3 separate regions of the Homo sapiens genome follow, and regions 1 and 2 are each linked to region 3. Evidence: promoter capture Hi-C in human tissues and cell types (Jung and others, 2019). All regions are on one chromosome and are shown on one strand. Each heading gives the region's core, a stretch centred on a gene start or on the middle of the fragment in contact. The rest is flanking DNA. Distances are from core to core; before and after follow the strand shown.

Region 1 (2,700 bases), core at 44-2,543, 490 kb after region 3:
TTCTGACTAAGGAGCCTCAAGGAGCGTAGATGTAGGGAGGAGACAGCAGGATGAGGTACTGGGGCACCTTCCAGCCCCGCCTCCTAGACAAGAGAGCCCAAAGGCCAGGATAGGACATGTTCTGGAACAGACTCCCTGTCACTGACAGCAGATCTGGGGTGAGAAGGGGAGTTCTTTCCCCGGATTGAGTTTGATGATAACTGCTGGCTTTATTTTCTGATGATCTAGTTCATAGCAAAAGTGCAGTGAGTTTTGAGCTAGTTAGCCATTGAAAATAAATGGTAATTGGGGACTCGAACTTGCAAGCCAGAGTTGGGTAGCTGCCCACTGTCATGAAAGGCAGAATTTAAAAACCTGGTAGGAAGAAGCAGTGTTTCTCTGTAATATTTAACTCACAGTCTAATGCTCTGAAGTTGGTACTCTTGTTATATGAAAACGTGGAAGGTTAATGAAAGTGGGGTTTGTGCTAACAGAGTTGGATTGTGACAGAGGTCAAATATCTGCTTCTCTTTCCCTTATCCCTGTAATCTTGGCTTCAAGAGCTACAAGACCATCAGATGCCAGTAATCCCCAGACCAGCAACAGCAGCATCACCTGGGAACTTGTTAGAAATGCCAATTCCCAGGCCCCACAGCAGACCTATGAACTAGAAACTTTAGGGGCGGGGCCCAGCAATCTGTATTTTAACAAGCCCTCCAGGTGATTCTGAGGTGGACTCAGGTGTGAGAACCAATGGTCCGGAGTATGGTATGCTTCCTAATTTGCTGTTTATTAAGGAAAGTCAGCCTTCTGAGTGAGCTAGCTGTCTGCCTCCTATCTTGCCTCCTTCTCCTCTTCTCCTCCACCAGTGGGACAACCACTATTGGAAGATTCGGGGTTTGTCCTGCTGCTTTCCTAGGCCTCGGTATTTGTACAGGAAACTGTCTCTCCACCCATCTGTCTGGCTCTGGGCCCCAGCTGTCTCACTCCTCTCCTGGGACTCTCACTATTGTTGTTCCAGTGAGGTTGTTTCTACTCAGTGCTGGGAAGGGAGGCATAAACGTGGCTTTTGTTCCTCTAGTGGGACCACAGATCAAGGCAGACCATGGAACTCTTCTTCAGAGTTCTGTTTGCTGTGACAAGGGGCTTTCAAGGGAGGCCCTGGCTGTCCTTCTCAGGAGAAGCAGTGAAAATGACTTGTCTGGTCCTGGGATAGGATGCCAGCAGCTGTGTGTGACTGGGCATGCTCTGGGGAAGTTGGGGCTTCAGTCAGAGAGCTGTGGGCCCTACTTGCCCATCCCTCTCTCATTTATCTGTCAATATCCTGTTGTGCAGTGCCCTGGGGAATCCCAGGGGGAAGAGTCTAATGCTACAGGTAGCTCCCATAGGTTTAACTACAGAGGGAACCTGTTCTGTTTTTTGAGAGAGATCAGGACGCTGAGTTAATTTCTTGAAATATATTTTGCCAAATGCTTTTTTTCTTTTTATTCTAATTAAAGCCAAGGCATTAAAAGGTATAGTGTCTATTGGAATTGTGTCATATCTTATTCCCCTTATTCAGCTCCTCCTTTCTAGGGAGCATGTCAGGAGCCTGTCACAGAAGCTCTGCCTTTGTCTCTGTGGCACTGATTAGAGGCTGCCAGGCTTCTGAGGGGATTTGGTTTGATTACATATATTTGAAATTTTCTACTCTTCTGATCAGGAAAAAAATAGCCTTGGGTAAGAAGAAGACGCAGATTTGTACTTTAAGAGCCACTTTGGGCATATTTCCAAAATGGTAGCCACTCCCAGATCTTGGGGACACTACAAGGTGGACATGTAGCCAAGATCCATTCATGCATTCTTGTCCAGGGAGGACAGGCTTCTGTTCCTTGAGTGCATTGACTCATTGCTGAGGCCTTGTGCATTCAAGTCCATCCATCCTGGAGGAAGAAGAGGTCTCAAGAGGCTGAGGAAGTTGGCACGAAAACTCACAGGGTTTTTATGTATATTTTGTGTCTTGATTTTAGCCCCACAGTCATCCTTAGATGTAAGATTAACTCTGTTTTAGAGATAAGGAAGCTGAAGCTTGAGTACATTAAGGGATGGGTCTGAGATCACAAGCTGAGAAGTGGCAGACCAGGGCCTTGACTCTAAGTCTACTTAGTGCTCGTTCTCAAAGCCTTTGCCTTCCCAGAGCTCCTCCCCTTTCTGCTCCCTGTGCCTCAACTTCTAAGGAACATAAGTAACCTGATAGGAGAGTTGAAAAGGAAACTGCACCCAGACTGCACTCAGGACTCAAAGATCCTGACCTGTTTGCTAATGAAATGTGTCTACCTCAGGATCCATCACATATGTTGGCACTGGCCAGTAAACAATTTTTTTGTGAAGAGGAGGGAAATAATCAAAGAGTTATGAGGACCAGTGAGTTTATCATATTTCTCCTGACCCTGGCCATCCAGGATACTCCCTAAAACCCCAGAAATTCCCAGATTTTGCCAAACATGCATTTGTCTTTTGCAAAAAAAAAAAGAAAAAAGCAGCAATAAAATGAGTTGTCAAACTGTCCTTAGGGTTGGAGCAAGGGGAAGTCGATCTTTCCCCAAATTCTAGATTTTCTTTACAAGTTATTTGAAGCAGCGTTGTATGAGAAGTGCAGCTGTATTAGAGAATGTGTGTGTGTGTTGGGAGTGGGGATCGGGGGGTATAAGTGTGAGAGAGAAAGAGAAGAGAGAGAGAGAG
Region 2 (2,829 bases), core at 206-2,705, 390 kb after region 3:
CTCCTTCTAACAGCCAGGCCCCTCTTCTGCAGGCCTGCTGGAGTTTGATGGAGGTCCACTCCAGACCCTGTTTGCCTGAGTATTACCAGTGGAGGCTGCAGAACAGCAAAGATTGCTGCCTGTTTTTTCCTCTGGAAGCTTTGTCCCAGAGTGGCACCTGCCAGTTGCCAGCGAGAGCTCTCCTATATGAGATGTCTGTTGGCCCCTACTGGGAGGTGTCTTCCAGTCAGAATACACAGGGGTCAGGGACCCACTTGAGGAGGCAGCCTGTCCCTTATCAGAGCTTGAATGCTGTGCTGGGAGATCTGCTGCTCTCTTAAGAGCTGTCAGGCAAGGACATTTAAGTCTGCTGAAGCTGCACTTGCAGCTGCCCCTTCCCCCGGGTGCTCTGTCCCAGGGAGATGGGGGTTTTATCTGTAAGTCCCTGACTGAGGCTGTTGCCTTTTTTTCAGAGATGCCCTGCCTAGAGAGGCAGTCTGGCCACAGCAGCCTTGCTGAGCTGTGGTGGGCTCCGCCCAGTTCAGACTTACGAGAGGCTTTGTTTACACTGTGAGGGCAAAACCACCTACTCCATCCTTAGCAATGGTGGATGCCCCTCCCCCTACAAAGCTTGAGCATTCTAAGTCGACCTCAGACTGCTGTGCTAGCAGCAAGAATTTCAAGCCAGTGGATCTTAGCTTGCTCGGCTCTATGGGGGTGGGACCTGCCGAGCCAGGCACTGGAGGGAATTTCATGGTCTGCCGGTTGTGAAGACCATGGGAAAAGTGCAATATCTGGGCCGCAGTGCACTGTTCCTCCCGGTACAGTCTCTCAAGGCTGCCCTTGGCTAGGAATGGGAAATCCCCTGACCCCTCGTGCTTCCCGGGTGAGGCAATGCCCCACCCTGCTTCAGCTCGCCCTCTGTGGGCTGCACCCACTGTCCAACCAGTCCCAATGAGATGAACTGGGTACCTCAGTTGGAAATGCAGAAATCACCTGTTTTCTGCATTGATCTTGCTGGGAGCTGCAGACTGGAGCTGTTCCTATTCAGCCATCTTGACAGCCACTGAGAATTGTTATAAAAAAAAAAAAAAAAAAAAGCTCTGGCTAGCCATATGCAGAAAGCTGAAACTGGACCCCTTCCTTACACCTTATACAAAAATTAACCCAAGATGGATTAAAGACTTAAACATAAGACCTAAAACCATAAAATCCTAGAAGAAAACCTAGGCAATACCATTCAGGACATAAGCATGGGCAAAGAGTTCATGACTAAAACACCAAAAGCAATGGCAACAAAAACTAAAATTGACAAATGGGATCTAATTAAACTAAAGAGCTTCTGCACAGCAAAAGAAACTATCATCAGAGTGAACAGTTAACCTACAGAATGGGAGAACATTTTTGCAATCTATCCATCTGACAAAGGGCTAATATCCAGAATCTACAAAGAACTTAAATTTACAATAAAAAAAACCCCATCAAAAAGTGGGTGAAGGATATGAACAGACACTTCTCAAAAGAAGACATTTATGTGGCCAACAAACATATGAAAAAAAGCTCATCATCACTGGTCATTAGAGAAATGCAAATCAAAACCTCAATGAGATAACATCTCACACCAGTTAGAATGGCAATCACTAAAAAGCCAGGAAACAACAGATGCTGGAGAAGATGTGGAGAAATAGGAATGCTTTTGTTGGTGGGAGTGTAAATTAGTTCAACCATTGTGGAAGACAGTGTGGTGATTCCTCAAGGATCTAGAACCAGAAATACCATTTGACCACCAATCCCATTAATAGGTATATAACCAAAGGATTATAAATCATTCTACTATAGACACATGTTGCTGGGCACAGTGGCTCACACCTGTAATCCCAACACTTTAGGAGGCCGAGGCAGGTGGATCATGAGGTCAAGAGATCAAGACCATTTCCTGGTCAACATGGTGAAACCCCAACTCTACTAAAACTATAAAAAAAAAAAAAAGCTGGGTGTGGCGGCATGCACCTGTAGTCCCAGCTACTTGGGAGGCTGAGGCAGGAGAATTGCTCGAACCTGGGAGGCAGAGGTTGCAGTGAGCTGAGATTGCGCCACTGCACTCCAGCCTGGCGACAGAGCAAGACTCCATATCAAAAAAAAAAAAAAAAAGAGAAAAGACACATGTACACGTATGTGTATTGAGGCATTATTCACCATAGCAAAGACTTGGAACCAACTCAAATGCCCATCAATGATAGACTGGATAAAGCAAATGTGGCACATATATACCATGGAATACTAGGCAGCCATAAAAAAGGATGAGTTCATGTCCTTTGCAGGGATATGGATGAAGCTGGAAACCATCATTCTAAGCAAACTATCACAGGAACAGAAAACCAAACACCGTATGTTCTCACTCATAAGTGGGAGGTGAACAATGAGAACACATGAATACAGGGAGGGAAATATCACACACCAGGGCCTGTCGGGGGTTGGGGGAGCTAGGGGAGGGATAGCATTAGGAGAAATACCTAATGTAGTTGACAGGCTGATGGGTAGAGCAAACCACCGTGGCACATGCATACCTATGTAACAAACATGCACATTCTGCACATGTATCCCAGAACTTAAAGTATTAAAAAAAAAACTGTAGTTGTAATGTTGAGTGCTGCCTAACAGTCAGGCAAAATAATGATTGAAAAGTACCTGTTGGATTTAACAACAAGAATTTCATTAGAGTCCTTTACCAGAACCTTTTAGTGACCAAGTAGGGAAGAAGATCCAAAAGAAGTGGCAGAGTCAGGAATATGATCAGGATGCTCACCAGCACTGCTTCTTTACCACTGTACTGAAGGCCGATGCACAAAA
Region 3 (2,913 bases), core at 193-2,692:
AAAACCTGAGTTATAAATATCAACTGATATTCAATGTGAACAGTTTTTAAAATTTTAATTTGATTAGTGAAAACAAAAAAACCTACAAAGATCCCAAATTCAACATGATTAATAAATTCCGAAAACACCAACAGCCTCCTTATTACTTCTCTTTATGAACAATTGGTCTGCAATGTAATTTAAAAAAAAGGAAAGAAAAAGTAAAGAAATATAGTAAAACTAGCTTTAACACGCCATTTCCCTTTTCTAAGAATAAAAAATGGACCAGGAACGAAAATTTAAAACTGGGCGAAGAATGGGGAGACAAAGCAATCTACAATTTGAAAATTACACAGATAAATCCATCATTTCAAGTCACTAATTTGTATACCCACTGAAGAAATTCATCTTGGTACTGCGTTACCAGCATTAGGAAGATAAATCCCTGCCTCGGAGGAACATCTACTGAGTACGTTTCATTTCAGGATCTCAGGTAAGTTTACGAGCTCTTAGATCTCTTTAGGTTTCCCTAAGGTACGCTGAAGTGTTTAACATCATTCACACATCCAGCCACCACTAGGGTGAGAAGTAAATAAACAAGATTTACTTATGCAATTATTTACCACAGAACTCTGGTCAAGAATGCAAAAGTAAACACCCATACAGACATTTAAAATCCAAAGAAAGCAGAGAATATTAAGGATAATAAGGTTCACTCTTTAACTGACCACTGTGGAAACCAGACGCCTTCCACATGGACTGTTCTTTACTACCACTCCCGATTTGAAAAAGTAACAATGTCAACTCGAGATTTTAACAGTACAAAAGATAAACAGAACTTAGTCAAATCCCTTCTTCCAGATTCTGAAAAGGTGTTTATAAGAACTGAGATAAGAGCAACGCCCCCCTAAAAGCACCCTACTCCAAAGAATGAAATGCTGAAAACATGAGGTGGGCCAAAAAGGTTAAAAAAAGCTAAACTTCTAACTTAATTACCCAGAGGTTGGGGACTAGGAACTTGAGATCGGAGTGGGGGTGGGTAGCAAAGTGAAATCTAACCCCAGAAATCACAACGCAGGCCGCAACCTAAGAGGTGAAGCTGGCGGGAAGTGAGCTCCCTTTCTGTTCCCAGGGGAAAGTCCAGACAGGAGCGGCTCCGCACAGTGGACGTACGAGGCGCCAAAGAGTGCATGCCTACCAAGGCGCCAGAGCCGCTGGAGGACCAGGTTTAGAAGGGGAGGAGATCCCGGCAGACGGCCCTGGAAGAGGAGGAGGACTGAGATTGGAAGCAGCGGCGGCGTCTGGACGAAGGGGATTACCTAACTGTGACGACAGAGAAGTGTCCTCAGGCTCCGGCGATGGTCCCGACTGCGCAATGTGTGGTGTCTTTCCCGCTTACCCCGCAGCAGCAACAGAACCAGCTCCTTCAGCCAGTCGCCATTTCCCGCCTACCGACCTGCTGCACCGCACGGACAGGGACCCGGATGGAAAGCGGCCTCTCCGCGCAGGCGCCCTGACTTCCTCCTCCCCCTCCCGCCACAATTCCGCGAGGTGGGAGGGAAGGAATGCGGGCAGCCACAACGGCAACAACAACCAAAAAAACACTTTTACTTCCGTGAAGAGCGTTGAAGTTCCTTACGCCGGAAGAAACTCTCTAGTCTGAATCCTGGAGAAAAACTGAACACAAGGCCTTAGTACTGGGTCGATTAAGAAAGGACAAAACCTATCAGGATGAGCAAGGGCCTGGGGGATATTTGTACATTAGGGGCCTCCGTAGCCGGCTGTGTAGTGGTCGCAGGGGGAGTAGGGAGTAAAGCGTTAGGAGTGGAGAGGCGGGGACCCGAAGGACGGTTTTTCCTCCCGCTCCTAACGGAACTGCTTGGGCAGAGCTGGGAGGGGGAGCGCGCCCTTGCCCCGGAGGCGGGGCTTAGGAACGCGTAGTGCACCCTGGCGGCTAGGGTTTAGTAACTGTGGGCGCGCTGGGTAGGTGGAGCTGAGGGGATAAGGCGGGACTAACGGCTTGGCGCGCTGGAGGAGGTAGTTCGTAGGGAGAGCTGCCTGAGGCCGGGAGAAAGCGAATCTGGCGCCTTTCCTGGGATTTCGGTGGCCCTTGAAGGTTCCCTTTCCAGCTCATTGCCTAGAGGGCGTAGCAGTCGCTTTTGGATCATAAATATTCATGCCCTTCGACTCAACCCTATGTTGGCGGTGATTCTGCAGGTTGAAAACTCGGATCTTTCAGGCCAGTGGGCTCCCACCTGCGACCCTAGGTCAAAGGACGGTCAGCTCCACAGAGTGAAAATGTATCAGTCCAGAGAATCCAGTTCTAGTGGGGTATCGGAAAACCAAGCCTAGTGTTTGGAAGAACATTTTTCACTGAAACTCCAAGCCACTCTCCTTATTCAATCAAGAAATATTTATTGAAAAAATAACTAGGTGCGACGGGTAAAACAGTGAGCCAGGCAGACACGGATACTGCCTTCCCCAAAGGTAATGATTTTTTTTTTTTTTCGAGACGGAGTCTTCACTCTGTCGCCCAGGATGGAGTGCAGTGGCGCGATCTCGGCTCAAACCTCCACCTCCCGGGTTCAAGCGATTCTTCTGCCTCAGCCCCCCGAGAAGCTGGGATTACAGGCGCGCGCCACCACGACCGGCTAATTTTTGTATTTTTAGTAGAGACGGGGTTTCACCACGTTGGTCAGGCTGGTCTCGTACTCCTGACCTCGTGATCCGCCCGCTTCGGCCTCCCAAAGTGCTGGTATTACAGGCGTGAGCCACCGCGCCCGGCCAAAGATCATAATCTATTGAAGAAGACACCCAAGTAAACAGAATTTAAAAACTGATAAAGCGAATACAAGGATGGCATGATAGGCGTTGTAAAACACATGAGAGTGCCGGCGAGGGGGTCTGGGAAGGTTTCGTAAGATAACATCTGAG

Evidence for each region. Contacts are between HindIII fragments. The study calls those that stand out against the background at their distance.
Region 1: a contact is called between a fragment that was not itself captured here and the fragment with the promoter of CTDSPL2 in region 3, in 1 of the 25 tissues and cell types used here (dorsolateral prefrontal cortex).
Region 2: a fragment that was not itself captured here is called in contact with the fragment with the promoter of CTDSPL2 in region 3 in 1 of the 25 tissues and cell types used here (dorsolateral prefrontal cortex).

The regions. Positions count from the first base shown.
Region 1 is chr15:43,931,379-43,934,078 of GRCh38, reverse strand. The region is part of intron 1 of FRMD5 (FERM domain containing 5); the gene reads left to right. Among named protein-coding and RNA genes, the nearest start is that of WDR76, 110 kb to the right of the region's middle. The HindIII fragment of the contact is 4,303 bases long and covers 1-2,700 here.
Region 2 is chr15:44,036,771-44,039,599 of GRCh38, reverse strand. All of the region lies in intron 1 of FRMD5 (FERM domain containing 5), which reads left to right. Among named protein-coding and RNA genes, the nearest start is that of FRMD5, 160 kb to the left of the region's middle. The HindIII fragment of the contact is 3,739 bases long and covers 1-2,829 here.
Region 3 is chr15:44,426,158-44,429,070 of GRCh38, reverse strand. It overlaps CTDSPL2 (CTD small phosphatase like 2), which reads right to left and starts at 1,442. Exons shown (of 13, transcript NM_016396.3): 1 at 1,299-1,442. It overlaps LOC124903479 (a long non-coding RNA gene), which reads right to left. Exons shown (of 3, transcript XR_007064605.1): 3 at 2,754-2,777. RefSeq lists enhancers at 718-1,324, 1,389-1,768, 1,325-1,932, 2,049-2,278, 1,933-2,540. The HindIII fragment of the contact is 11,921 bases long and covers 1-2,913 here.